7 separate regions of the Homo sapiens genome follow, and regions 2, 3, 4, 5, 6 and 7 are each linked to region 1. Evidence: promoter capture Hi-C in 16 types of primary human blood cells and fetal thymus (Javierre and others, 2016). All regions are on one chromosome and are shown on one strand. Each heading gives the region's core, a stretch centred on a gene start or on the middle of the fragment in contact. The rest is flanking DNA. Distances are from core to core; before and after follow the strand shown.

Evidence for each region. Contacts are between HindIII fragments. The CHiCAGO score rates a contact against its expected background, and 5 or more counts as called.
Region 2: a contact is called between a fragment that was not itself captured here and the fragment with the promoter of NPR1 in region 1, in 6 of 17 cell types (M0 macrophages, total B cells, naive B cells and 3 more). The highest score is 11.2, in M0 macrophages.
Region 3: a contact is called between the fragment with the promoter of NUP210L here and the fragment with the promoter of NPR1 in region 1, in 1 of 17 cell types (M2 macrophages). The highest score is 5.9, in M2 macrophages.
Region 4: a fragment that was not itself captured here is called in contact with the fragment with the promoter of NPR1 in region 1 in 1 of 17 cell types (naive B cells); the score reaches 6.3 in naive B cells.
Region 5: a fragment that was not itself captured here is called in contact with the fragment with the promoter of NPR1 in region 1 in 2 of 17 cell types (neutrophils and M1 macrophages); the score reaches 5.1 in neutrophils.
Region 6: a fragment that was not itself captured here is called in contact with the fragment with the promoter of NPR1 in region 1 in 3 of 17 cell types (neutrophils, naive CD8 T cells and M2 macrophages); the score reaches 5.9 in neutrophils.
Region 7: a fragment that was not itself captured here is called in contact with the fragment with the promoter of NPR1 in region 1 in 1 of 17 cell types (erythroblasts); the score reaches 5.3 in erythroblasts.

Annotation. Positions count from the first base shown.
Region 1 is chr1:153,676,602-153,680,459 of GRCh38, forward strand. NPR1 (natriuretic peptide receptor 1) reads left to right here and starts at 2,087. Exons shown (of 22, transcript NM_000906.4): 1 at 2,087-3,228. The coding sequence starts at 2,508. RefSeq lists enhancers at 1,324-2,305, 2,306-3,286 and a silencer at 2,828-2,887. The HindIII fragment of the contact is 5,247 bases long and covers 1-3,858 here.
Region 2 is chr1:154,177,353-154,181,210 of GRCh38, forward strand. All of the region lies in intron 2 of TPM3 (tropomyosin 3), which reads right to left. Among named protein-coding and RNA genes, the nearest start is that of TPM3, 13 kb to the right of the region's middle. RefSeq lists an enhancer at 2,841-3,837. The HindIII fragment of the contact is 2,058 bases long and covers 1,064-3,121 here.
Region 3 is chr1:154,153,153-154,157,010 of GRCh38, forward strand. NUP210L (nucleoporin 210 like) reads right to left here and starts at 1,921. Exons shown (of 40, transcript NM_207308.3): 1 at 1,690-1,921. The coding sequence starts at 1,892. It also overlaps a transcript of TPM3 not described here. RefSeq lists enhancers at 1,254-1,754, 1,755-2,255 and a silencer at 2,862-3,039. The HindIII fragment of the contact is 10,459 bases long and covers 1-3,858 here.
Region 4 is chr1:154,135,525-154,139,382 of GRCh38, forward strand. It overlaps NUP210L (nucleoporin 210 like), which reads right to left. Exons shown (of 40, transcript NM_207308.3): 6 at 2,582-2,714; 7 at 290-448. Among named protein-coding and RNA genes, the nearest start is that of NUP210L, 18 kb to the right of the region's middle. The HindIII fragment of the contact is 1,223 bases long and covers 1,566-2,788 here.
Region 5 is chr1:154,021,483-154,025,340 of GRCh38, forward strand. NUP210L (nucleoporin 210 like) reads right to left here. Exons shown (of 40, transcript NM_207308.3): 31 at 1,640-1,815; 32 at 644-861. Among named protein-coding and RNA genes, the nearest start is that of RPS27, 33 kb to the left of the region's middle. The HindIII fragment of the contact is 2,345 bases long and covers 697-3,041 here.
Region 6 is chr1:154,003,352-154,007,209 of GRCh38, forward strand. All of the region lies in intron 35 of NUP210L (nucleoporin 210 like), which reads right to left. Among named protein-coding and RNA genes, the nearest start is that of RPS27, 15 kb to the left of the region's middle. RefSeq lists a silencer at 3,848-3,858. The HindIII fragment of the contact is 5,364 bases long and covers 1-3,858 here.
Region 7 is chr1:153,351,416-153,355,273 of GRCh38, forward strand. No RefSeq gene overlaps it. Among named protein-coding and RNA genes, the nearest start is that of PGLYRP4, 4.5 kb to the left of the region's middle. RefSeq lists silencers at 1,261-1,310, 2,336-2,385. The HindIII fragment of the contact is 417 bases long and covers 1,475-1,891 here.

The sequences.
Region 1 (3,858 bases), core at 837-3,336:
CCACTGCCCTCTTCCCTGCCTCTCTTCCTCAGTCATCCTACATGCACACACCTTACATCCTAGATCAGGGCTGAAAACACAAACTCCTACTACAGCCAGGCAGGTAATGCACCTGAGTGAAGCAGGGTGCCTAGGAACCATAATGAACTAGACTCATTTCAAGGAGATAATGGATACTTGCTCTGGTTAATTGCTCATGGAGGGATGCAGGACAATATATTGCCAGCTCTTCCAATATTTTAAGGAAAGTCAGAAATCCAGGTTGGGCCTGGTGGCTCACACATGTTATCCAGGAATTTTGGGAGGCCAATGCAAGAGGATCGCTTGAGCCTAGGAGTTCAAGACCAGCCTGGGCAACATAGGGAGACCTCCATCTTTGAAGGAAAAAAAAAAAAAAGTCAGAAATCCAAATATTCATGTACCATCTTTTTTTTTTTTTTTTTTTTGAGACGGAGTCTTGCTCTGTTGCCCAGGCTGGAGTGCAGTGGCGCAATCTCGGCTCGTTGCAACCTCTGTCTCCCGGATTCAAGCAATTCTCTACCTCAGCCTCCCAAGTAGCTGGGATTACAGGCGGCCGCCACCATGTCTGGCTAATTTTTGTATTTTTAGTAGAGACGGGGTTTCACCATCTTGGCCAGGCTGATCTTGAACTCCTGACCTCATGATCCACCCACCCTGACCTCCCAAAGTGCTGGGATTAGAGGCTTGAGCCACCTTGCCCGGCCCCATCTTATGATATTTAAGTGTGGGGAATTAAATACAATATACATAAAGAGAATGCAAGCCAAAGCATGCCTGCCATCTCAAGTTGGCCTATCGACCACAATTTGCTCTAGATAATAAGAATATTCAAGTCTCCTAAAATTCCATATATAGGAAATGTACTTCAACATTCTGCTCTGTCTACACAGAATACCTTTCTCATCCTTCCATCCTCTTGAATTATTTCTTTTTTGGAGATTTTCTGGCCCCAATCCAAGCAGAATGAATAGCCCTCATCTGAGTCCTTTAGCAATTTATCCATGTCTCCCCTGTAGTGCTTAATGCATGTTGCATTACGGTTATTTGTCCCAAATGGAGCTCCTCAAAGGCACGGACTATATATATTCATCTTTATGCCCTCGGCACCTAGTGGGTGCTTAATGCACCGAAGGTTCTCTGGAAATGTTTGCTGACCTGAAGTTTGGTGATCTTATGTCCTGCTTAGGCGCAGCGTTGGAGAGGTTGGCGCTGCAATGCCGTCAATAACCCCCGATGACCATTAGAGGGCACACTGATTCCACAGCAGTCTGCACCGGGGGCCCAGCTGTCAAGTGCTCCAAAACCCACTCCCCAATTTACGCCTCCAGTGGTCATCTCCCACAGCCTTCATTTTAACAACCCTCAACACAAAACAGTCATTTTCTTGGGGCGTCCCTGAGGTGTGAACCTCCTCCCTCCCAGACACCCACCCACTCTCCCCATCTTCCTACAATTTGGGCGCTAAAGATTTAATTCCTCTCTGACACCAGATCATTTTTTCACAGCTAATCTGCACAGTCTGGAAGGTGGCAGGGAGGGAAAGAGAGGGAGATCATAGAAGGAATGGGTAACAAGCACTCTGGGCTCACCTTCAACTTTAACGGACTTTCCAGAAACCCGTCACCTTCCACCCCACACCCAAACACACACATCCACGCACTCACTCAGTTTCCTGCCAGGATCCCAAACCAGCACACCTTTCCCTCTTCCCCCGAGGAGACCAGGTAGGAGGCGAGGGAAAAGGTGGGGCGCAAGTGGGCCCCGGTTGCTTCCACACACACCCTCCGTTCAGCCGTCCTTTCCATCCCGGCGAGGGCGCACCTTCAGAGGGTCCTGTCCTCCAAAGAGGTAGGCGTGGGGCGGCCGAGACCGGGGAAGATGGTCCACGGGGAAGCGCGCGGGCTGGGCGGCGGGGAGGAAGGAGTTAAAGATCCTGGATTGGCTCTTCTGTCACTGAGTCTGGGAGGGGAAGCGGCTGGGAGGGAGGGTTCGGAGCTTGGCTCGGGTCCTCCACGGTTCCCTCCGGATAGCCGGAGACTTGGGCCGGCCGGACGCCCCTTCTGGCACACTCCCTGGGGCAGGCGCTCACGCACGCTACAAACACACACTCCTCTTTCCTCCCTCGCGCGCCCTCTCTCATCCTTCTTCACGAAGCGCTCACTCGCACCCTTTCTCTCTCTCTCTCTCTCTCTCTAACACGCACGCACACTCCCAGTTGTTCACACTCGGGTCCTCTCCAGCCCGACGTTCTCCTGGCACCCACCTGCTCCGCGGCGCCCTGCGCGCCCCCCTCGGTCGCGCCCCTTGCGCTCTCGGCCCAGACCGTCGCAGCTACAGGGGGCCTCGAGCCCCGGGGTGAGCGTCCCCGTCCCGCTCCTGCTCCTTCCCATAGGGACGCGCCTGATGCCTGGGACCGGCCGCTGAGCCCAAGGGGACCGAGGAGGCCATGGTAGGAGCGCTCGCCTGCTGCGGTGCCCGCTGAGGCCATGCCGGGGCCCCGGCGCCCCGCTGGCTCCCGCCTGCGCCTGCTCCTGCTCCTGCTGCTGCCGCCGCTGCTGCTGCTGCTCCGGGGCAGCCACGCGGGCAACCTGACGGTAGCCGTGGTACTGCCGCTGGCCAATACCTCGTACCCCTGGTCGTGGGCGCGCGTGGGACCCGCCGTGGAGCTGGCCCTGGCCCAGGTGAAGGCGCGCCCCGACTTGCTGCCGGGCTGGACGGTCCGCACGGTGCTGGGCAGCAGCGAAAACGCGCTGGGCGTCTGCTCCGACACCGCAGCGCCCCTGGCCGCGGTGGACCTCAAGTGGGAGCACAACCCCGCTGTGTTCCTGGGCCCCGGCTGCGTGTACGCCGCCGCCCCAGTGGGGCGCTTCACCGCGCACTGGCGGGTCCCGCTGCTGACCGCCGGCGCCCCGGCGCTGGGCTTCGGTGTCAAGGACGAGTATGCGCTGACCACCCGCGCGGGGCCCAGCTACGCCAAGCTGGGGGACTTCGTGGCGGCGCTGCACCGACGGCTGGGCTGGGAGCGCCAAGCGCTCATGCTCTACGCCTACCGGCCGGGTGACGAAGAGCACTGCTTCTTCCTCGTGGAGGGGCTGTTCATGCGGGTCCGCGACCGCCTCAATATTACGGTGGACCACCTGGAGTTCGCCGAGGACGACCTCAGCCACTACACCAGGCTGCTGCGGACCATGCCGCGCAAAGGCCGAGGTGAGACGCTGGCACACCCCGTCCCGCCGCTTAGCCGCAGGGCCTCCCCTCTGACCTGCCGGAGGCATCGGGACTTTCTCTCTCATCTGGGGGCACTCTTCTTTCTCCTCGCCGTTCTTCATTCTACTTTCAGCTCCCTGGCCCTTTCTACAGCTGAGTTTCTATTTCCCTCTCTTCTTCCGCCACCCCCACCACGTCTCTATCCTCTCATCTCCCCGACCCCCACTCATTCCCTCCCACCCTAGCACAGCTCGGTTCCGGTCCCTTTTTCCCTCCCACATTTTCTCTCTTCCCTATAGCCTTCTCCCTTCTTTCATCCTCTCCTCTCATTGCGCCTCATCCCCTCTCTTCTCCCCCTCCCTCTCCCTCCTCTCTCCCTCCTGGCCCCATCCTTCTCCACCTTCAGCTCCACTATCCCCCTCTCCCTACCCGTTCCTTCCTCCCTTCCGCCTCCCCCTTCCTCCTCCCGCCCACCGCCCCGCACCCGCCCGTTCCACCCTTCGACTTTCTCCTGCTGTGGCCTAGGCTGAGCCGGGAGTTACCACTTAACTCTCACTGGGTCTCTCCTGCACCCTATCTCTAAACTTCCTCCCTTGGGTGCCCCAGCTTTCCTACTCCTGTCTCTCCCGC
Region 2 (3,858 bases), core at 843-3,342, 500 kb after region 1:
CTAATACAGCGACAATCTTCCCCCTGGCCTCCATCTCACAATGAAGTATATAGGTTAGAGTCCAAGTAAACCCATCCTGGATGGGTTTTCTCTAAGAAACAAGGAAAGAAGGAGGCAGCCTGCAGGTGGATGGATAAATTCTAATGGTAGGAAAACCTCTTTCCATGACTGCCTCCCCGCTACCTTTACTGGTGGGAGGTACCCTGACTGCAACAGTATACAAGAATTTAATATGCCCCGCACACCACCCAGTTCAGATGCTTATCCAAGTGCCTGGTAAACACGATCTCTCTTCTATAGCCCAGATTGTGCCTGAATTCTATTACCCTGATTTCTTCCTGGCAGGCAGGAGTTGGTGCAGCTATAGAAACAGCCTGGGCCACTAGCTCCGATGAGGAAGAATATAGACCAAAAGACTCCTTTTTAACCATCAGGACTGGCACAAAAACTTCCACATACAAACATGAGAAGCTGAAGAGACTAGGAAGGGAAGCAGAGGGCTGGGGCTACAATCTAGCCACCAGGCAAAGAAAATCGAGAAGTCAACATAAGCTGAAATCATTAAGAAACCATTTGTGCCTCTAACTACACTACTCAAAACACCACAAAGACAAGTATTCTCTGCTTCTGCCTCTTCCAGAAAAATAGATGTTCTCTGTAACAACACACATTTCTCCTCACAAACCCAACAAGGCCATGGATCAAGAGCAAGTCAGGCTATCAGGCAAGACCTAGGAGACACTGCTAGTAAAATGACTTACCCCCCTCAGACGAAAAATACAACTAGATTTAGAGGAAGCTCATGAAATGTAAGACATCATGCAGCTCACCAGTAGTTACCCAAACTGGAGTAGAAGATAACAGGCTATGGGGCGGGGGTGTACAGTTGCCATGACAGCAAGCTGGCTCAGGCAGTTTCTCCCACAAATCAGCATTTACAATAGAATTCTTAGCAAGGCTGAAAAGGGAGAGGGGGAAAACACATCTTGGTGCCCTCCTAAGAGCATGCACACATGAACAAGCCTGTATCAAAAGCAGAACCTGAGATGGGAGTCCTAGAAAAAGCTTCAGAGACCCCCTCCAGGGTGGAGTGGTAGGGAATGGGACCTTGCCTTTCTCTTTTCTCCTAGCACAGAGGATCAGTTCTCTTTACAATGAAACAAAAGCCTGCAGAATCAAGATCTGATACTTTGTTTAAAGGAACAAGGAAGACAAGCTGACTTTTCCCTCATGAGTCTATGCACAGTGCCTGTCCCTTTCAGGTCAAATAATACCAATGGGTACCAAGAGATTGAACAGGCCTACTTTTTGCAGACCAGGCTACCTGTGGCCCTGGGAAACGTTAAGCTCTGCACTTTCCTAATCATCTTAGGTTTTAGCATGCCCATCCAGATGCGGTTTTGGTGTTTCAGCTGACCTATCTCTGCCCAGTGTGGAGGATATACAGTACTCTGTGGTTCTTCCCTTCAAGTAATAATAGGATTCTCCACTGCCCAGGAAGCAAAGATCCTGGGTGAGGGATTGGGGAAAGAGTAGAATGCCCCAGCAACTCAGTCACATTACCAGATGGCTGACAACACCTTCGGCTATCCTCCACTCCAAAGAGATTTCCCAAATATGTCAACCCCTCCAGGCAAGAAACTGACAGTGTGATGGTACTCTCAGGCAGAACAGGGCCAAGGACAGAAGGGGATTAGCCTAAATCTGGCTTTCTGCCACACTGGGGTTTCTCTTATTAGATAAAAGCCACAGATAAAATTCAAATGAAAGAGTATCAGAAAGTTAGGCTTGAGCCCTGTGAGTAAAGGACTATTTGAGTTCACTGTGCTCACAAATGCATTACCCAGGGAGATACCGTGTCCTTGGGGAATTTAAACTTCACCAAAGGGGAGGCAAGTTGGAAGGGAGTAGAGCTATCTGCCCCACAGTAAACAAAGGCGGAGCCTAAGCAGGGGTAAAGGGCTATCTGCCTCTCCCCTGTGAGTGTGTGTTCTAGTACTGGGGAAAGAGAAAGGAAAGCAAAGCAACCAAAGAAAGGTTGCTTAGTCCACCAGGCCCACGAATAGAAGAGAACCACACAACAGTCAAGCATTCTAACCTCTCCAGAGACTAGGAATTTAGGATTAAGGCCAGAATCAAAGCCCACTCCCTCGGTAGTACTCTTAAGGTTTTTGTTATTACTTTTTTTTTTCTTTTTGAGGCAGAGGTAGTGTGCTGACCTTACACTCCCGCAGTTGACCCCTCACTCCCCCAGTGCCGATACTCGCCCAGGCTGGAGTACAGTGGCATGATCCAATCCTGGTTCACTGCCACCTCCGCCTCCAGGGTTGAAGCAATTCTTGTGCCTCAGCCTCCCAAGTAGCTGGGATTACAGGCATGCGCCACCATGCCCAGCTAATTTTTTGTATTTTTAGTAGAGATGGGGTTTCATCAGATCCACAGGTGGACCTCAGATCCACCCGCCTAGGCCTCCCAAAGGGCTGGGATTACAGGTGTGAGCCACCGCACCCAGCCTCTTAAGTTTTTTAGACTAGAAAAAAATTAAAAAGAGAAAAATATCAGGGACAATTAGGAGAGAGTTATTAAAAACAGATAAGGTGAACTGTACATTTATAAATGGTTAAAATGGTAAATTTTACATGTATTTTTATCACCACTACCACAAAAAAAAAGAGATAAGGAAAAAGACTGCATTTAAACATTATGTTGCCATCTGTTTCCATTTAGACAGAAGTAAAAAGGAAATACAGAACTGAAAGTAAATTTGACAAGGTGCTACATTATAAAAGACCAATTTCCAGGCCGAGAGCAGAAAAGAAAGATGGATCCTAGAACACCAGTGTCTCAGTTTTAGACTCATCTAGCTTCCCAACAAGGGTGGCTTGGATGTTCACACAAAGTAACCAGGAAAATAATTAAGTGACAATCCCACTAACAGCATGAGATACCATCAGAGAGTGCAGTTTCCCGCTCCAGAGGAGGGAGGAGTCTGCAAAACCCACATTCCAGAATGCCTTAAGAGGATAACAGGTAGCCCAAGCAACCCCCCTCCCTTCCCACAGGTGTCTCCTCCTCAGTAGGGGTTCAAAGTTCAGCAGAGCAGCAGAAAGTCAAAAGATTAAGCTTCTTCAGGCTGGGGAGTAGAAGAAATGATTTCATCAATATTTAACTATAACTCTACTTCCCCATTCTGAGGACTTCCTCACTAGACCTCAGCTCAATAAGCAAATTTGGCAGGCTCTGAGTGAAAGTAGCTTAAGAAACATCACCCCAGGACAGGCGCAGTGGCTCATGCCTGTAATCTCAGCACTTTGGGAGGCTGAGGCAGGCAGATCACTTGAGGTCAGGAGTTTGAAACCAGCCTGGCCAACATGGTGAAACCCCATCTCTACTAAAAATAAAAAAATAAAATAATAAAAAAAAATCGCCGAGTGTGGTGGTGGATGCCTGTAATCCCAGCCACTCAGGAGGCTAAGGCAGGAGAATCACTTGAGCCTGGGAGGTGGAGGTTGCAGTGAGCAGAGATCGTGCAACTGCATTCCAGGCTGGGCTACAGAGCAAGTCTCCATCTAAAAAAAAAAAGAGGGGGGATGGGAGGCAGGAATCACCCACCTTAGAACTACTCCTAGAATGTCCATATTTAAATACTGAGCCTAAGATTCTGCAGCTCAACACATGGCCAGTTCCTCTGTCTTCCCCTTTAAAGCTATCTGGTCTCCAGAACAAAGGAGATGAGAAAGTGCCACTGGCCATAAAGAGTCACCCAGCCAGTCCATCTCACTTGCACAGATAATAAGAAGTTGTTGGCAAACTGAACAGAGGAAAAAAATCTACCTAGAAAAAGGTGTCTGAGGAAGA
Region 3 (3,858 bases), core at 671-3,170, 480 kb after region 1:
TGTTTCTAGTAATGAGAGGGGACTTTCTCATACTCTGAGGAAAGTTTCCTTCAATCCTAGAAACCAGGCTTCTGATATCTAGGATGGAAAAGGTGCCTAAATTATGAGGTGTGAGTCCAACTCAAAATACCAAAAACATTCATAAATATTTTTATTCTTATTTATTATTATGTTTTTGAGACCGAGTCACTTTGTTGCCCAAGCTGAAGTGCAGCAGGGCGATCTCAGCTCACTGCAACATTCGCCTCCAGGGTTCAAGCGATTCTCCTGCCTCAGCCTCTCGAGTAGCTGAGATTACAGGTGTCTGCCACTATGCCCGACTAATTTTTGTATTTTTAGTAGGGATGGGCTTTCATCATGTTGGCCAGGCTGGTCTTGAACTCCTGACTTCAAGTGATCTGCCTGCCCCGGCCTCCCAAAGTGCTGGGATTACAGGCGTGAGCCACTGCGCCCGGCCGAATGTTTTTATTTTAAATAGAGACGGGGTCTCACTATGTTGATCCGGCTGGTCTCAAACTCCTGGCCTCAAGTAATCCTCCTGCCTTGGCCTCCCAAAGTGCTGGGATTACAGGCGTGAGCCACCATGCCTGGCCTCATTAATATTTTTGGAGTGATAGAAGAAATGGCTTTCAATGCTGGAAAGATGCCTTGCATCACCCTCACGGTCAGGAAACACACACGTCACACTGGATCATCTTACAAGCTCACTTTCCTTATACTTCCTCATAAAATGAGAGGTGAATTTATACTCGGAACAAACCTCATTGCTTCTCCTAGGAGATGGCAAAGGGGTATCTACTCCATCTAGGATGAATGCACTGGCATCCTGAAGCTCACTTCGGTTAGGTTCTCTCATACCTTAGGCAACCACATAACCCATCATTGGGTCCTCTCACACCAGAAAATCATGTCTCTTCATCTTCAGTCAGGAAGTCATTATCCCGGAGTTGTGTGTACCCCCTGTCCTCACACTTCAAGCGGGTACCCTTTTATAAATGGGGCAATTTTGATAATACAGACAGATCTCATCTCCACCCACGATAAATCTTCTCATATTCCCAGAAGTTTACACTTCATAGTCTCTGGGCCTCACTTTCCTCGTCTGTGAAATGGGAGTAATAGTACTTACTTCATAAGACTGCAAAAAGCGAATGAGTTAACACATGTAAAGTGCTTAGTTAACCCCCAATACTTGGCTGTTGTGTTTTAAGTCCTTCTCACATTGAATAGCTCATCTATAGTTAGTGGGGACCCTCGCACCCCAAGTTTTCCTGTTCCTACAGAAATTTCCTCAGATATGGGGAACTTCCTCTTACTCTAGTTGTTTACATTGGAAGTCATCAGTACCTGTGGCCTCCAACACAGGGCTTCCCTTTACCCTGACGGCTGCTCATAGTGACCACCCCTTCCCAACACACACAGAGAAGAGGCCAGTCCCACATCCCGAGAATTCCTCACACGTCTGGAAGATTGTCACACAGCTGGAGGATATACCACATGAGTAGGACACGCCACACCCAAGGGTCTGCTCCTCGCCACCTTCACTGACACCACACTCTCCTCCCCTACCGGCTAGGCCCCTTCACGCGGCCCCACACGGTATTCCTGTGGGATCTTACAGAGGGAACCCCCCTCACCCTTACTGGATGGTAGTGAGGGTGCATATCCTTGTCACCCACCACCCCTCACCAAGTGTAGCAGCCCCGCTGGGCCTCCAGCAGGAAAGGCACCCGGCCTGGCTCTCGGCCGAAGGGTAGCAACACCTGTGGCACGTTAAGTTTGTTGGCCAGGGTCCCACGCAAAACCAGAAACAACAACAGGAGGCGGTGTAGACGCAAGAAGAAAAAGAGCCCGAAGCCTCGGCGTCTTGATGACGCCGGACAGCCAGTCATGGCGACTGCCAGGTCTCGGGTTCCCGCTCAACTACAGCCGGCTCACAGCTCCATCAGCCAATCCACAGGCGTGACGTCAGCAGAGGGGGATGGGACCTGCTTCTTGCTCGGATGTGTGGGCATTTTTAAATGCAGTCCTTCAGCAAGCCAATATAATGGAAACTTTTGGCACAAACCCAGCTAAAACACCTCAAACTCTCTTAAAGGGCTTTCCTAAATACTGGATGGCAGACCTTTTTAACAGTAAGGAACAAGCAGAAAAGTCTAAAAAAAACCCTTTAATTTCTTCCAGTTTTAATTTCTTCTGTTGCACACTGTTTATCTTAACACCACACCCTCCGCCCGACAAAAAAACTTTTTGCAATGATTTCCAGTTAGCATTGGTCCATGCCTATCAACGGAAAATTGTGCAGTCTCTGGGATAAACAGCTCGACTTTGTCAAGGGAACCGTGTATTTTTACTAGAAGTCAGATTCACGTCCGGCCTCCAGGCCAGAATGCAGGAAATGCCAGACACTGGCGTCTCAAAAGCAGCTTTCAAAGTTATCCACTCACACAGCCGGCCTCTAAGCAAATACTCTTGAGAGCACTTGTTGTTTTCTCCAAATATCCAAACAGAATATAAACTCAAAGCTGTTTCAGTACAGTTGGTTAAAACCACGCATTTATAGTAGTGATCAGCATTATATATTGTTTTAAGGAGCATAAATCCATAGTTTATAAGGATTGATATGGTTGTGAAGGAAAATGTATATAGTTCAGCCTGAGATGTCAGTGTTAACCTATAAAAGGCCCAGCACATTAAGTGTTCTTTCTAATCTTCATGTTTACTCTGACAATACTTATCTCCATTTTACAGATGATAAAACTAAACATTTGCTCTATATTAAATCCTGTTGCTCCAGCTGGGTGCGGTGGCTCACGCCCGTAATCCCAGCATTTTGGGAAGCTGAGGCAGGTGGATCACCTGAAGGTCAGGAGTTCGAGACCAGCCTGGCCAACATGGTGAAGCCCTGTCTCTACTTAAAATATAAAAAATTACCCGGGCATGGTGGCAGGTGCCTGTAATCCCAGCTACTCGGGAGGCTGAGGCAGGAGAATCTCTTGAACCAGGAGGCGGAGGTTGCAGTGAGCCGAGATCGAGCCATTACGCTCCAGCCCAGGCAACAAGAATGAAACTTCATCTCAAAAATAATAATAATAAAGAATAAATCCTGTTGCTACCACCCACAAAGATGCTATTTTTAACCCAAACCTCATAGCTTCTGTGGAGAAAGCACATTTAGTTTTAATAAATAAAAGTCAAATAGGTCTGAGGGTTGGAGGGACTGGTTCTTTATTTCAAAAAGACACTTGTCAATATTCAGTATCAAAACAGTTGCACTATTGATTTCTCTTTCTCCCAATCGGCCCCAAAGAGACCACATAAAAGGAGAGTACATTTTAAGCCAATAAGCTGCAGGATGTACACCTAACAGACCTCCTAGAAACCTTACCAGAAAATGGGGACTGGGTAGGGAAGGAAACTTAAAAGATCAACAAACTGCCAGCCCACGGACTGCAGAGGCTGTCACAGCCAGATGGGGTGGCCAGGGTGCCACAAACCCAAAGCAAAGTTTCAAAATAATATAAAATTTAAAAAGTTTTGTACATAAGCTATTCAAGATTTCTCCAGCACTGACTGATACAAAGCACAATTGAGATGGCACTTCTAGAGACAGCAGCTTCAAACCCAGAAAAGGGTAATGAGATGAGTTTCACATGGCTAAATCAGTGGCAAAAACACAGTCTTCTTTCTTTCTTTCTTTCAAGGAGGCAGGAAAGCAATTAAGTGGTCACCTCAACATAAGGGGGACATGATCCATTCTGTAAGCAGTTGTGAGGGGGTAGAGATGGGACAAAATTTTGGTCTCAGAGGTCTTACCATCTTAATTTGGTAACTTCTAATGAAAAAAATAAAAAATAG
Region 4 (3,858 bases), core at 927-3,426, 460 kb after region 1:
CATTCTCCTGCCTCAGCCTCCCGAGTAGCTGGGACTACAGGCGCCCGCCACCACGCCTGGCTAATTTTTAGTATTTTTAGTAGAGTCAGGGTTTCACCGTGTTAGCCAGGATGGTCTCGATCTCCTGACCTTGTGATCAGCCCGCCTCGGCCTCCCAAAGTGCTGGAATTACAGGCGTGAGCCACCGCGCCCGGCCATAATCATTCTTAATAAATTATTTTACCAAAGAACATGTCTAGGATGCTCAAGGAAGTGTAGACTGGCAGCTAAAACTTGAACAAAAGGATACTTTTATGGACAAAGACAAGATTAGTCTGGCCCAGTTGTGAGGCAGTCACCATGGCTGTTTTGTCATCCAGTATAGCCACTTTCTCAGAATGAGACCCGTTAAGTGCAACTCTATGGTCTTGCAATTCCAGTATATAATGTTCCAGGGGAAATTTCACCTCTGTAAGACATGAAAGATACATAAATGTAATGACAGCAGCCATTCCAGTAGATAATGATGTATTCTTGATCATAAAGGAATGATCAGGAAGCAGACATAAAATAAGAGTATGATCTGCTTCTAATGTTTTTCCTGCTATGATGAATTTCTACATGTAACCATTTGGGGGGAGTATATGAGTTAAAATATATTGCTGGAGGCTGGGTGTGGTGGCTCCGCCTGTAATCCCAGCACTTTGGGAGGCCAAGGCGGGTGGATCACCTGAAGTTAGGAGTTCGAGACCAGCCTGGCCAACATGGTGAAACCCCGTCTCTACTAAAAATACCAAAATTAGCCGGGCGTGATGGCGTGTGCCTGTAATCCCAGCTACTCGGGAGGCTGATGCAGGAGAATCGCTTGAACCTGGGAGGTGGAGGTTGCAGTGAGCTGAGATCAAACCATTGCACTCTAGCCTGGGCGACAAAGCATAACTCCGTCTCAAAATAAATAAATAAATAAATAAAAATTAAAAATATATATATACAGAGAGAGAGAGAAAGAAAGAATTGGTTTTGCTTGTATTCTTAAAAACTAGTGAACTGAGTAGCAGGAGGGGTCATCATTAGTAAGAAAAAGATTAACGTTAATGGAGCCAATACATACTTTAAAAGCTCAATGTAACTTTTAGGCCAGGTGCGGTGGTTCACGCCTGTAATCCCAGCACCGTGGGAAGCCGAGGTGGGTGAACCACGAGGTCAGGAGTTCGAGACCAGCCTGGGCAACATGGTGAAACCCCATCTCTACTAAAAATGCAAAAAATTAGCTGGGCGTAGTGGCGGGCTCCTGTAATCCCAGCTACTCGGGAGGCTGCGGCAGGAGAATCGTTTGAACCTGGGAGGCAGAGGTTGCAGTGAGCCGAGATCATGCCACTGCACTCCAGCCTGGGCGACAGAGTGAGAATCCATCTCAAAAAAAAAAAAAAAAAAAAAGCTCAATGTAACTTTTAGTATCAACAGAATATTAAGCTTTCAGTCGATGAATTGAGTTTCTCAAGAAACAACTTTTGCAAAGATCATTGCAATGCTCATTCAGGTCCCTTCTGGTAAAGTGTCTTAACTTGCCCTTCAAAAGCTAGTAAAGCTTTAATTGTTTTATTTATTTAGTTATTTTTAGAGATGAGGTCTCAGCTTGGCACAGTAGCTCACACCTATAATCTCAGCCCTTTGGGAGGGAGGCCAAGGTGGGAGAATCACTTGGGACAAGGAGTTCAAGACCAGCCTGGGTAACATAATGAGATCCCATTTCTAACAAAAAAAAGAGGCCGGGAGTGATGGCTCACGCCTGTAATCCCAGCACTTTGGGAGGCTGAGGCAGATGGATCATGAGGCCAGGAGTTTGAGACCAGCCTGGCCAGCATGGTGAAACCCCGTCTCTACTAAAAATACAAAAAATTAGCTGGGCATGGTGGTGCACACCTGTAATCCCAGCTACTCGGGAGGCTGAGGCAGGAGAACTGCTTGAACCCAGAGGTGGAGGTTGCAGTGAGCCGAGATCATGCCACTGCACTCCAGCCTGGGTGACAGAGAGAGACTACATCTAGAAAAAAAAAAAAAAAGAGCTTGATATGGTGGCAGGAACCTGTAGTTCCAGCCATTCAGGAGGCTGAGGTGGGAGGATCACTTGAGCACAGGAGTTCAATGTTGCAATGAGCCATGATCATGCCACTGTACTACAACCTGGGCAACAGAGTGAGACCCCCATCTCAAAAAAATAAAAATAAAAAAATAATAAAGATATGGGGATCTTGCTCTGTTGCCTAGATTGGTCTCCAACTTCTGGCCTCAAGCAATCTTCCTGCCTCAGCTTCCAGAGTAGCTGGAATTACAAGCGAGAGCCACCATGCCTGGCTAGTTGTTGTTTTAATAGAGAATTCAGATGCCTATTGGCACCGAAGCTAAGCAGCCTAACTATGCCATTAATATGTTCAAGATATGGGGCTATTTCTGTCTAATATTAGTTAAGTACAGCAATTAACACTTTACCACAAAATCTAAAAACACAAGTATTTTTCATATGTAATGTGGAGTTGCTGATCTTGTCAGCAGAAAAGATTTGGGAAATGTGAGTCATAGGAGAAAAAATAAATCACCTTACCTGTCACTCTCCCTTGAACCATTTTTGCAACTTGGTATTTAATATATGTTCCTACTAAGAGATAAATATCATGGGATGGTATAAGAAATATATTCTCCAAAACAAGCAGACGTATTAAGGCTGCTGCCACTTTCTAAAAGAGGGAGGGAAGGAAAAAAAAAAACAGTTTCCATGGACGGAACCCTCACAGTCATCTTTCTTGTTAAAAGCTTACTTCTTTTAAACTTCTTTTAAAATTTTTTATAAAGATTTTTTTAAAAGCTTTCCTAATCACAAGTCATAATTTCAGCTAGCCTTAAAAAGTGATTATGAATCTTAATACCTTATTAACTTTCTAAGATACTCAGACTTAGAACAAAAAAGTCTTCTAAAAGAAAAAAAGTAGGTAAATAAAAAGTCAAGTATGCTGAAATGAGAAAAGGTAAGACTCAATTGTAGAACACAGAAATTCTTTTAGCCAACCTCCAATTAACTGACTTGCCAGATTAAGTTACTTTCCACTCTCTGTTGAACACATTGATTTTTATGAAGATTTACCCAATGCAAGGTTGGTAGGCTTCTCTCTAGGAGGTCCACACACTCATGTTCTTGCCATTGAATTAAATGCTTACCAAAAAACATTTGTTTTTCCCAAACCTATTTATGCAAGTTGTGCTTATAATTATAATCACATTAAAACAAAAACTATACATGTGAAAAGAGAACTGTTATTTCTATTAAAAATTTAAATGTGTCAAAAAAAGTTAAAGGCAAGCTGCTAATATATACTATCAATTAGGTATAAGTGAGAAATGTAAAATATTAGGGAAAATCCTTTAAAATATAAATTTTTGCACACAAATTCTTCCTGCATCTAAATTTTTACTTGACTAGAAATTAGGGCCGGGTGTGGTGGCTCACGCCTGTAATCCTAGCACTTTAGGAGGCCGAGACAGGTGGATCACTTGAGGCCAGAAGTTTGAAACCAGCCTGGCCATCATGGTGAAACTCTGTTTCTACTAAAAATACAAAAATTAGTTGGGCATGGTGACACACACCTGTAATCCCAGATATTCGGGAGGCTGAGGCACAAGAATCACTTGAAACCCCCCCACCCCAAAAAAGGAAGAAATTAGAAACTGTAGTTTATTGGAGAAAGTGTATGTAGATTTCAAATCAGTGAACTCATGGTCAAAGAAAGGCCTTGCACCTACATCAAGGATTGGTGAATAAAATGTAGTTATATATTTTAAGAGAAAATGCCAGTCACATTTGTAATTGTAATCAGGCAATAAAAT
Region 5 (3,858 bases), core at 619-3,118, 340 kb after region 1:
GACTCTGTCTCTAAAAAAAAAAACAAAACAAAGTATAGTTTATCCGGGTAAAAGAAAAAACCTTATTACAATGATGATATGTTAGGACTTAGGCCTTCAAATGTGCCTCACAAAATAGCATACACATAACTAGTTCTTAGAACTAAAGCCTTATTGCCCTTTCCTTCCTGTTATCCTTTACTGTCCTTCAATATAGTAATTACCCTCCTTCAAAAGCTGGGAATGGAGGAGAAGACACAGTACCCTGCACTATCTACATAATATAAAATAGAGCTATGTATCCAATAGACTCTTGATCAATATTACTGGCTGGCTTCTAATTGGCTGGCTATTGAGTGAAACAGGCATTAAGCTAAAAATTATCAGTAACATTACAAATAATAAAATACTCAAAATTATTTTCTTTCTCAGAGAGTCCCTCAGATTTTAGATAATTTGGAAAAAAATATTCTAGGGGATTAATTGCTTTCTTGAACTTCTGGCCTTAAGTGACCTCTCCAGCTTGGCCTCCCAAAGGGCTGAGATTATGGGTATAAACCACTATACCAGTCCAAGGGATTAATAACTGCTTTTTTTTTTAATAACTGCTTTTTAATCCCCACAACTATCAATTGTAAGTTTGAGAAAGGGAATGTATACATACCATGCTGGCTGACAAGGTGAGTACTGAAGCAGATGATATCTCCAACAAAGGTAAGCTTGGTGTCTGGCTCAATGGCATGCTCTACAGCAACAGGAATATAATCTGCCATGCCTGGATGTCTCCGGTCCCAAAGCCCCACAAGTGTCAGCCCTCTGTTCACAGCCTGGGCCATGTAAGTATAGTTCTTATTCCCTGGTCCAATATGCAGCAAGTCATCTCTGCAAGTAGACATTAAAGGTAGAAATCTTTAAAAAGAGACAATAGTTAGAAAATAGTTCTGGAGAACACCCTACCACATTTTATATTCAACAGCTCAGAAGTTCAGAAGGAATTCCACAATAAAGAGTAAGTAAGTATGGGCCAAGGATCAGTCTATTACCTTCATACGTATAGTTCCCAGGAAGGCTTTTTTTTTTTTCCAGTAAAGCCTTTTGATAATAATACTCCAGTTAGCTCCCTATGGATCTTTTAGTGAATTAGAACTTGACAGATTTAAGATATCCTGCATTTTTTCTTAAGTGACAACTAATACCATTGCCTAAGTCTGGTCTTTTTTTTTTTTTTTTTTTTTTAAGACAGTCTTAATTGGTCACCCAGGCTGGGGTGCAGTGGCGCAATCTCTGCTCACTGCAACCTCTGCCTCCTGGGCTCAAGTGATCCTCCCACCTCAGCCTCCCTAGTAGCTGGGACTACAGGCACACGCTACCACACCCAGCTAATTTTTGTATTTTTGTAGAGATGGGGTTTCACCATGTTGTCCAGGCTGGTCTCGAACTCCTGGGCCCAAGTGATCCTCCCTCCTCAGCCTCCCAAAGTGCTGAGGTTACAGGTGTGAGCCACCCACCTGGCCTCACTTAAAAAAATTTTTTTTAACAAAAGAAAGATCAACTTCCAAATTCAGAATGTGAGAGGAATTTACTGGAGCTGCTATATAATACTAGCCTAATATGCAAGATTTCTACCATAGTGTCAATACCATTCCTTTGACTTCCATACCTGTTCAGAGCCAGATAAAGCTGGGTATTGTGTGTGTGGAATTTCTCTCCGATACTATTATAAAACTGAACAGTGAAGGTAAGAGACATGCCCAAGGGAAATGCTGACAGGGTCCTTCCTTGGGCTGTGTATAGCTTGGGTTGGCTGCTCACTCGCAGGTATGTCACCGGTGCTACCTGTGGGAGACAAAACCTACTGGTACAGAGAAAGATGCACTGGAGAAGTGCTGCAACCATATTCTGAGACTTATAATCAATGATAAAGAGTGATGTTTCTTTTCCATAGGAAATAGCTTTTGATGTGAGATGACTTAAGTCAGAGTGAAAAGAAATATGACAGCATAGCAGCATAGGAAATTCTTTTCTTTTTTTTTTGAGACAGAATCTCACTCTGTCACCCAGGCTGGAGTGCAGCGGCATGATTTTGACTCACTGCAACCTCTGCCTCCTGCATTCAAGCAATTCTCCTACCTCAGCCTCCCAGGTAGCTGTGATTACAGGCATCTGCCACCACGCCTGGTTAATTTTTCTATTCTTAGTAGAGATGGGGTTTCACCATGTTGGCCAGGCTGGTCTCAAACTCCTGACCTCAAGTGATCTGCCCGCCTTGGCCTCCCAAAGTGTTGGAATTATAGGCGTGAGCCACTGTGCCCGGCTTGAAATGGGTTTTTAATTTTTTTTTTTTTGAGACGGAATTTTGCTGTCTCGCCCAGGCTGGAGTGCAGTGGTGCAATCTCAACTTACTGCAACCTCCGCCTCCTGGGTTCAAGCAATTCTCTGCCTCAGCCTCCTGAGTAGCTGAGATTACAGGCGCCCGCCACAATGCCCGGCTAATTTTTTTGTATTTTTAGTAGAGATGGGGGTTTCACCATCTTGGCCAGGTTGGTCTTGAACTCCTGACCTCGTGATCCACCCGGCTCGGCCTCCCAAAGTGCTGGGATTGGCGTGAGCCACTGTGCCCAGCCAGGTTTTTAATTTTTAAAGCTGTGGGAATGTGAAGAGAAGCTGGAGCTTTATGAGGAAAGGACTATAATTCATCCATTTCATGCAGAGTGCTCAATATTTATGGTTAAATAATCAATTACTTATCAGGAACACAATCTATATTGTGTTTTCACACTGTAAGAGAGCTGTGATACAGTAAGTGAAGCCCGCGTTTGAATCATAGCTTTATCATTTCATAGCCTCATGTAACTTTTCTGGGTCTCAGGTTTCTTATCAGTTAACAGTTAGATGGGGATAATAATGCCTACCTCATAGGGCTTTTGTGGTAGTTAAAAGAGATAATATACATACAATGACGAACATAGTATATAGTAGATGTTTAATGTCTAAAATTTTTTTTCGTGTTAAGACTAACTTATCTCTGAGGTCTTTTCTCAATTTTTTAATTCTTGTAGCAAAGCTTAATTTTTTAAAAAGAAACAGATTGTTGCTTTGTTTTCCAGGCTGCAGTGCAGCAGTTCAATTGCAGCACAAAGCAGCCTCGAACTCCTAGGTTCGTGTGATCCTCCACCTCAGCCTCCCAAGCAGCTAGGACTGCAGACATGTGCCACCAAGCCCGGCTATTTTTTTTTTTTTTTCATTTTTTGTAGAGATAGGGGTCTCATTATGTTGCTCAGGCTGGTCTTAAACTCTTGGCCTCAAGTGATTCTCCTGCCTCAGCCTTCCAAAGTGCTGGGCTTACAGGCGTGAGTCACCCAGCCCAGCCAATTTTGATAGCAATCATTCTACACTCCTCCGATACCAGTCCTTTTGCCAAAGCTGCTAGGAAGACAATCATATAAATTTAGGCTGATCTGTTTTTTTTTTTTTTTTTTTTTTTTTGAGATGGAGTCTTGCTGTCGCCCAGGTTGGAGTGCAGTGGCGTGATCTTGGCTCACTGCAGGCTCCGCCCCCCGGGGTTCACGGCATTCTCCTGCCTCAGCCTCCTGAGTAGCTGGGACTACAGGCGCCCGCCACCTCGCCCAGCTAATTTTTTGTATTTTTAGTAGAGAAGGGGTTTCACCGTGTTAGCCAGGATGGTCTCGATCTCCTGACCTCGTGATCCGCCTGCCTCAGCCTCCCAAAGTGCTGGGATTACAGGCGTGAGCCACCGTGCCCGGCCAGGCTGATCTGTTTTATAACAAGGGCTCTAAAGTTCATTTTAATTTTATGGCTTATAACCATGTCAAGACTGGCCTCTTATAGGTTCATTTCTGACTCCCAGAGAGTTTCTTC
Region 6 (3,858 bases), core at 981-3,480, 330 kb after region 1:
CGCCTGCCACCACATCCGGCTAATTTTTGTATTTTTAGTAGAGACGAGGTTTTACCTTGTTAGCCAGGATGGTCTCGATCTCCTGACCTCGTGATCCTCCCACCTCAGCCTCCCAAAGTGCTGGGATTACAGGCGTGAGCCACCATGCCTGGACTATTTATTATTTTTGTAGAGACAGAGTCTTGCTCTTGCCCAGGCCGGACTGCAGTGGCACAATCACAACTCACTGAAACCTTGAATTCTTGGGCTCAAGCAATCTTCCTGCCTCAGAGCTAGGGCTACAGGTGCGCGCCACCATGCCTGGCTATTTTATTTTTTGAGAGACAAGGTCTTGCTATGTTGCCCAGGCTGGTTTCAAACTCCTGGGCTCAAGTGATCCTCCCACTTCAGCCTCCTAAAACATTGGGATTATAGGCATGAGCCACTGCACCTGGCCTTAGTTGTCTTTACATCCTTTCCTTCATCCCTATATCCAATCATTTCCAAATCTTGCTTACTCCTTCTCTGAAATGTCTCTGACATCTGCCCCTTCTTAGTATTTCTCTATTAGTCTGGTCTAGACCCTTATCAATGCATGCTTGGATTATTGCAATTGGATAATTATGGATAATTAGTCTGGGCTAGACCCTTACTAGTCTGGTCCAGACCCATTAGTCTGGTCTAGACCCTTATCAATTCATGCTTGCATTATTGCCCCTTCACAGGTATCCTTGCCTGTTTTTTGTTTTTTTTTTTGAGATGGAGTCTCACTCTGTTGCCCAGGCTGGAGTGCAGTGGCGCGATCTTGGCTCACTGCAAACTCCGCCTCCTGGGTTCACGCCATTCTTCTGCCTCAGCCTCCCGAGTAGCTGGGACTACAGGTGCCCACCACCACGCCCGGCTAATTTTTTTGTATTTTTAGTAGAGACGGGGTTTCACCATGTTAGCCAAGATGGTCTCGATCTCCTGACCTCGTGATCCACCTGCCTCAGCCTCTCAAAATGCCAGGATTACAGGCGTGAGCCACTGCGCCCGGCCTTCTTTTTTTTTCTTTTGAGACGAAGTCTCGTTCTGTCGCCCAGGCTGGAGTGCAGTGGTGCGATCTCAGCTCACTTCAAGCTCTGCCTCCCTGGTTCAAGTGATTCTCCTGCCTCAGCCTCCCACGTAGCTGGGATTACAGGTGCCCTACTAATTTTTGTATTTTTAGTAGAGGCAGAGTTTCACCATGTTGGCCAGGCTGGTCTTGAACTCCTGACCTCAAATGATCTGCCCACCTCAGCCTCCCAAAGTGCTGGGATTACCATGCCCTGCCGTTATTCCTCTTTTCTTTCTTTGAGACAGGTTCTCCATCTGTTGCCCAGGCTGTAGTGCAGTGGTGTGATCACGGCTCACTGCAGCCTTGAACTCTTGGGCTCAAGGGATTCCCCCACCTTGGCCTCCTGAGTAGCTGGGATTACAGGCATGAGCCACTGTGGCCAGGCTATTCCTCTTTTCTTTTTTTCTTTTCTTTTCTTTCTTTCTTTCTTTTTTTTTTTTTTTTTGAGATGGAATCTCACTCTATCGCCCAGGCTGGAGTGTAGTGGCATAATTTTGGCTCACTGCAACCTCCACCTCCTGGGTTCAAGCAGTTCTCCTGCCTCAGCCTCCTGAGTAGCTGGGATTACAGGTGTGTGCCACCACGCCCAGTTAGTTTTTGTATTTTTAGTAGAGACAGGGTTTCACCATGTTGGTCAGGCTGGTCTCAACTCCTGACCTTGTGATCCACCCTCCTCGGCCTCCCAAAGTGCTGGGATTACAGGCATGAGCCACCGTGCCCGGCCTCCTCTTTTCTTTTTCTTATCCATTCTACATACTGCCACTAAATCCTTAAAAACTGCCTTCATTATTTATTTATTTATTTATTTTTTTGAGATGGAGTCTTGTCTGTCGCCCAGGCAAAATGGAGTGCAGTGGTGTGATCTCAGCTCACTGCAACCTCCGTCTCCTGGGTTCAAGCAATTCTCCTGCCTCAGCCTCCCAAGTAGCTGGGACTACCCAAGTAGCGTGAGCCACCAGGCCTGGCTAATTTTTGTATTTTTCGTAGATTCGGGGTTTCACCACGTTGGCCAGGCTGGTCTTGAACTCCTGACCTCAGGTGATCCACCGCCTTGGCCTCCCAAAGTGCTTGGATTACAGGTGTGAGCCACCGCGCCCAGTGTTTGTTTGTTTGTTTGTTTGTTTTTTGAGATGGAGTTTTGCTCCTGTTGCCTAGGCTGGAGTGCAATGATGTGATTTCAGCTCACCACAACCTCTGCCTCCCGGGTTCAAGTGATTCTCCTGCCTCAGCCTCCCGAGTAGCTGGGATTACAGGTATGCAACACCACGTCTGGCTAATTTTGTATTTTTGTATTTTTTTTTCTTTTTTTTTTTTGAGACAGCGTTTTGCTCTTGTTGCCCAGGCTGGAGTGCAATGGCGTGATCTCAGCTCACTGCAATCTCCGCCTCCCGGGTTCAAGTGATTCTCCTGCCTGAGCCTCCTGAGTGGCTGGGATTACAGGCATGCGCCATCACACCTGGCTAATTTTGTATTTTTAGTAGAGACGGGTTTCTCCACATTGGTAAGGCTGGTCTCGAACTCCCGACCTCAGGTAATCTGCCCACCTCAGTCTCCCAAAGTGCTGGGATTACAGGCATGAGCCACCGCGCCCCGCCCTAATTTTGTATTTTTAGTAGAGATGGGGTTTCTCCATGTTGATCATGCTGGTCTTGAACTCCCAACCTCAGGTAATCCACCTGCCTCAGCCTCCCAAAGTGTTGGGATTACAGGCGTGAGCCACCGCACCTGGCCAAAAACTGCCTTCATTTTTATTTTATTCATTTATTTATTTAGACAGAGTCTTGCTCTGTCACCAAGGCTAGGGTGTAGTAGCATTATCATGGCTCACTGCAGCCTCAACCTCCTGGGCCCAAGTGATTTCATCTTATTTTTGGAAAAAAAAACAAACTAAACCAAAACTAAAACAAACTTCTCTAGGGCCCTATATTGCCTGGAATGTCCTGTTCTCTTCACATCTAGTTCACTCTTAGTCATACTTCTAAAGGTCATTCCCTCTGTAAAACCTTACTTAATTTGGCTCTAGGTTTCATATAGATACTCCTCCTTTCTTTCTGCTTTATTTTTATTTATTTATTTATTTCTCTGAGATGGAGTCTCACTCTTACCGCCCAGGCTGGAGTGAAGTGGCACGATCTCGGCTCACTGCAACCTCCGCCTCCTGGGTTCAAGCAATTCTCCTGCCTCAGCCTCCCGAGTAGCTGGGACTACAGGCATGTGCCACCATGCCCGGCTAATTTTTGTATTTTTTAGTAGAGATGGGGTTTCACCATGTTGGCCAGGCTGGTCTCGAACTCCTGACCTCGGGTGATCTGCCTGCCTCGGCCTCCCAAACTGCTGGGATTACAGGCGTGAGCCACCATGCCTGGCCTCTTTCTGCTTTCTTACCATGCCATATATATATATATATATATATATGTATATATATAAATATATACATATACATACACACACATACATATGTATACACATATACATATATATACACATATACACATATGTCTGTGTGTGTGTGTGTGTGTGTATATATATATATATATATATTTTTTTTTTTTTTTTAAATGGAGTTTCGCTCTTTCACCCAGGCTGGAGTGCAATGGCATGATCTTGGCTCACTATAACCTCCTCCTTCTATTTCAATCGATTCTCCTGCCTCAGCCTCCCAAATAGCTGGGATTACAGGCGCCCGCCACCATGCCTGGCTAATTTTTGTATTTTTAGTAAAGACGGAGTTTCACCATGTTAGCCAGGCTGGTCTCAAACTCCTGACCTCAAGTGATCTGCCC
Region 7 (3,858 bases), core at 433-2,932, 330 kb before region 1:
ATTTGAATTTTGGAAAATTTGTGTCTGCCACCATGAGTTTGACAGCTTCCCAATATTTGAAGACTACTGACAGGATCAGTGGTGATATTAACAAATGTGGTGGGGCTTTTTTGCTTTTTTTGTTTTGTTTTGTTTTGTTTGTTTTTGAGACGGAATCTATCTCTGTCGCCCAGGCTGGAATTCAGTGGCATGATCTCTGCTCGCTGCAACCTCTGCCTCCCGGGTTCAAGTGATTCTCCTGCCTCAGTGTCCCAAGTAGCTGAGACTACAGGCATGTGCTACCACACATGGCTAATTTTTTGTATTTTTAGTAGAGATGGTGTTTCATAGTGTTAGCCAGGATGGTCTCGATCTCCTGACCTCATGATCTGCCCGCCTCAGCCTCCCAAAGTGCTGGGATTACAGGCGTGAGCCACCACGCCCGGCCAAATGTGGTTTATTTATATGTGTGTGTGATATATATAAATATGTATATATAGAGAGTAATAAATGATGTCAGCATTTAGAAGACGTACATAACTCAGTCAACCAATATTTTCCAAATGATCAATATATGAAGTCACAAAGTTTGGATAAAAGATCCATTAAATTTTAAGAGGGACCAATTGATTCTAATGTAACAGAGAACAAATAATTCATTGATATGGTTTCAGACTTTACGTTGCAACTAACCTTTGAGAAACCATCACTTGTTGGGTTTTGATGTAATATGAGAGAAGAATATCCACAATTATATATTTAAAGGCTATTAATGTATTCATCCCCTTTGCAACTACTTATCTGTGGGAGATTGGATTTTCTTCAAATCTTCAACCAAAGCAACATACAGCAATACCTTGTATGCAGAAGTAGATGTGATAAACCAGCTGTCTTCTTTGAAGCCATACAGTAAAAAGGTCTGCAAAAATGTGAAAAAAAAACACTCTTCTCACTAGCTTTTGACATATATATATAATTATTTTTAATTGTTTAAAAACGTGGTAATACGTAATGTGTTTATTAATGGTACTTTAAGTGAGTTAATAAATCATTTTAAATTTTTTAAACTTTTAATGTAGTAAATACTGATACATCTAATCCACAAAAGCTCTTTGGGATACTCAATAACTTCTATGAATACATATAAAAGGGTCCAGAGAGCAAAAAGATTAAAAACCTGGGGCCAAAGGAATCCCACAGGCTGTCCTGATGCAGATAGGCCACAAGGTGGCAGCATGCGCCCTCTGATAACTCCGGAGTCACCTTTCACTCACTAGGAGTCTCTGAGCAACCTCTTTTATCCATCACTCCCTTCCACTTCCTTCCTTACCTTCATGCTTCTGTGTGGCACGTCTTTTTTTTTTCTAACTAGCTTTATCCACCAACGCCTTCATAATTACAGGGCATAGCCATCTCCTAAGCATAAGTTCTGGCCAAACCAAGCCAGTCATTCATTTTATTCTGCAAACATTTGTCAGGTGTCACTCATATGCAAAGCTTATCATCCAGGGATGAGTACATTGAGAACACTGCTCTCAAGTAGTTAATAATATAATGAGGGAGACAGATCCAAACGCCAGTGATTATAATGCCTGCTGAGTGTGAAAACCCTTTATTCTTTACAAAGGGCTGTGGACTTCAAAGGGAGTCCTGAGAGCAGAGGATGCCAAAAGCCAGATGCTGAGATACTCGCCAAAAATTTCTGCAGAGATCTGGAACCTAGGGACATAGTGAGCGCAAAAGCCAGGTTCCCAAGAGATCGGGGAGGAGAAAGGGTTGGAGCAACAGAAGCCAGGCAACAAAAGGGAATGCCAGCTTTCTCAATTTTGAAGGTGGCATGTCTGAGAAATTAGGAGGATGATGAGCAGAGGCAGCCAAGGTGGAGACAGGGGGAGAGGTCCAGACTTGGGGAAGCTTAGGTTGAATGTCTAAGAAGCCAGATCATTGGAGGGTCCTCACTGTGGATGCTGGAGCAGCCCAGCATGGGGGCAGGGAGTGCGGCTGCTCTCAGCAGAGGGCCTCAGAGACCTCAGGATGGCCAGTCAAGGGAGGCCACAAGGATGCCAGGGGTGGTCAAAGCTTGATGTGGACTGAGCCCAAACGTGGTAGAACAATGGTCTGAAGCTACCCGTGGATAGCTTCTGTAAGTCATCCTAATGCACTAGAGTCTAGAATGAGCACTGGGGAAATGGGGGATGTTAGGGCGCTTGTGGTTAGGAGACCCGTACCCAGAGATCTCCAAGGAAGAGCACTTGGGACTCCCAGCAAGGAGGAAGACAGGGAGTGGAGGAATAGGCAGCAGGCTGTGCGCAGCCTGAGTGGGGCTGGGCCTCAGGCATCAGAGTCCCTGTGAGGAGAGGGACCTGACTTCACCTGCAGGTGGAGCAAGTAAGCCAGGAGACAGTGTCCAGGGGCCATGAGGCTAGTAGTAGTCATGAAGCCCACCAAGAGTCCATCAAAACTTGGAATCTGTGCTAGAAATGACCTAAGGGTCAGCTGTCCCAATCTCCTCATGTAATGGATAAGAAAATGGAGGCCCGAACATGGAAATCACTTCTAAAGACCACCAGCAAGTCTGAGAAAGCTAAGGACTAAAACCAGCTCAGTCCCTCAGTCCGGGTCCCACTGTGTGCCTGCTGTAACACCCCCATTACAACACAGGAGGGGTAAAGCTCCCTGAAAGACCACAGTGGGAGCTGCAGAGAAGGGAAAGACAGACCCGCAGTGGGTCCCAGGCATCTGGGAAAGAGCACAGTGATTTGATGGTAGCTGCAGGAACCTCTGCCTGCTTGTTTGTTTACTTGCTTGGTTGTTTGTTTGTTTGAAATGGAGTCTCACCCTGCCACCCAGGCCAGAGTGCAATGGCGCGATCTTGGCTCACTGCAACCTCTGCCTCCCAGGTTCAAGCGGTTCTCCTACCTCAGCCTCCTGAGTAGCTGGGATTACAGGTGCGCACCACCACACCCGGCTAATTTTTTGTATCTTTAGTAAAGATGGAGGTTTCACCATGTTGGCCATGCTAGTCTCGAACTCCTGACCTTGTGATCCACCCGCCTCGTGCTCCCAAAGTGCTGGGATTACAGGCGTGAGCCACCGTGCCCGGCCACTTATTTGTTTTTTAACCCAAAAAGCCACACCCTTTTCTCCCAGTGAAAACCTCGAGTCATTGTACAGAGCCAGGAAAATTGGCCCACCCACTTCATGCCCTAGCAGAAGGCTCCGACTTTCCCTGGAAAATCAGTACCCAGAGGGGAAGACCCCCATCCCACCATCCCTCAGTCCAACCTCTGGCCTCGGCTGGCAGTGAGGAGGCAGGTGGGTGTCGGCCACCTACTGATCATGCCAGGAATTGTCTGCTCCGGTCAGAACCAGAATGGCTCAGCCCTGGCCTCACCTGCGCCTGGGCTAGCCTGGAACCTGGGGGCCTGCAGTGGCCTTCTAAGATGGGGGCCCACTGTCAGCATCAGATCCCCCAAGTGCAGATTCCCGTCTGTTTTGAAACCCTGACCAGCTGCTCATTCCCACCCACTGCTGAGCCTTCTCTCCCCCAACTCCCTATTTTACTTTCATTCTGAATCAGCACTAAATGACCACAGTCAGTGGCTCTGCAGAAAGTCACAGAACAGAGGGTGACAGGCCAGTGTTTATGTCACATTCACTCATTTCATCATTGATTCATGCACTCCTGAATTTATTCAATCAACAAGCGTTCATCCAGTGCCTCTGAGCCAGCCCTTGCCTGGTGCTAAGACTTTGGAGGGTAGCAGGCAGCATCCCTGCCTAGAGGAGCCACAGTGGTGTGGAGGAATCAGAAAGTCCACCTGAAAGTTGAGAGCTCCATGACAAAGCAGAGATGCCTGCCGCACACCATCACTCAGG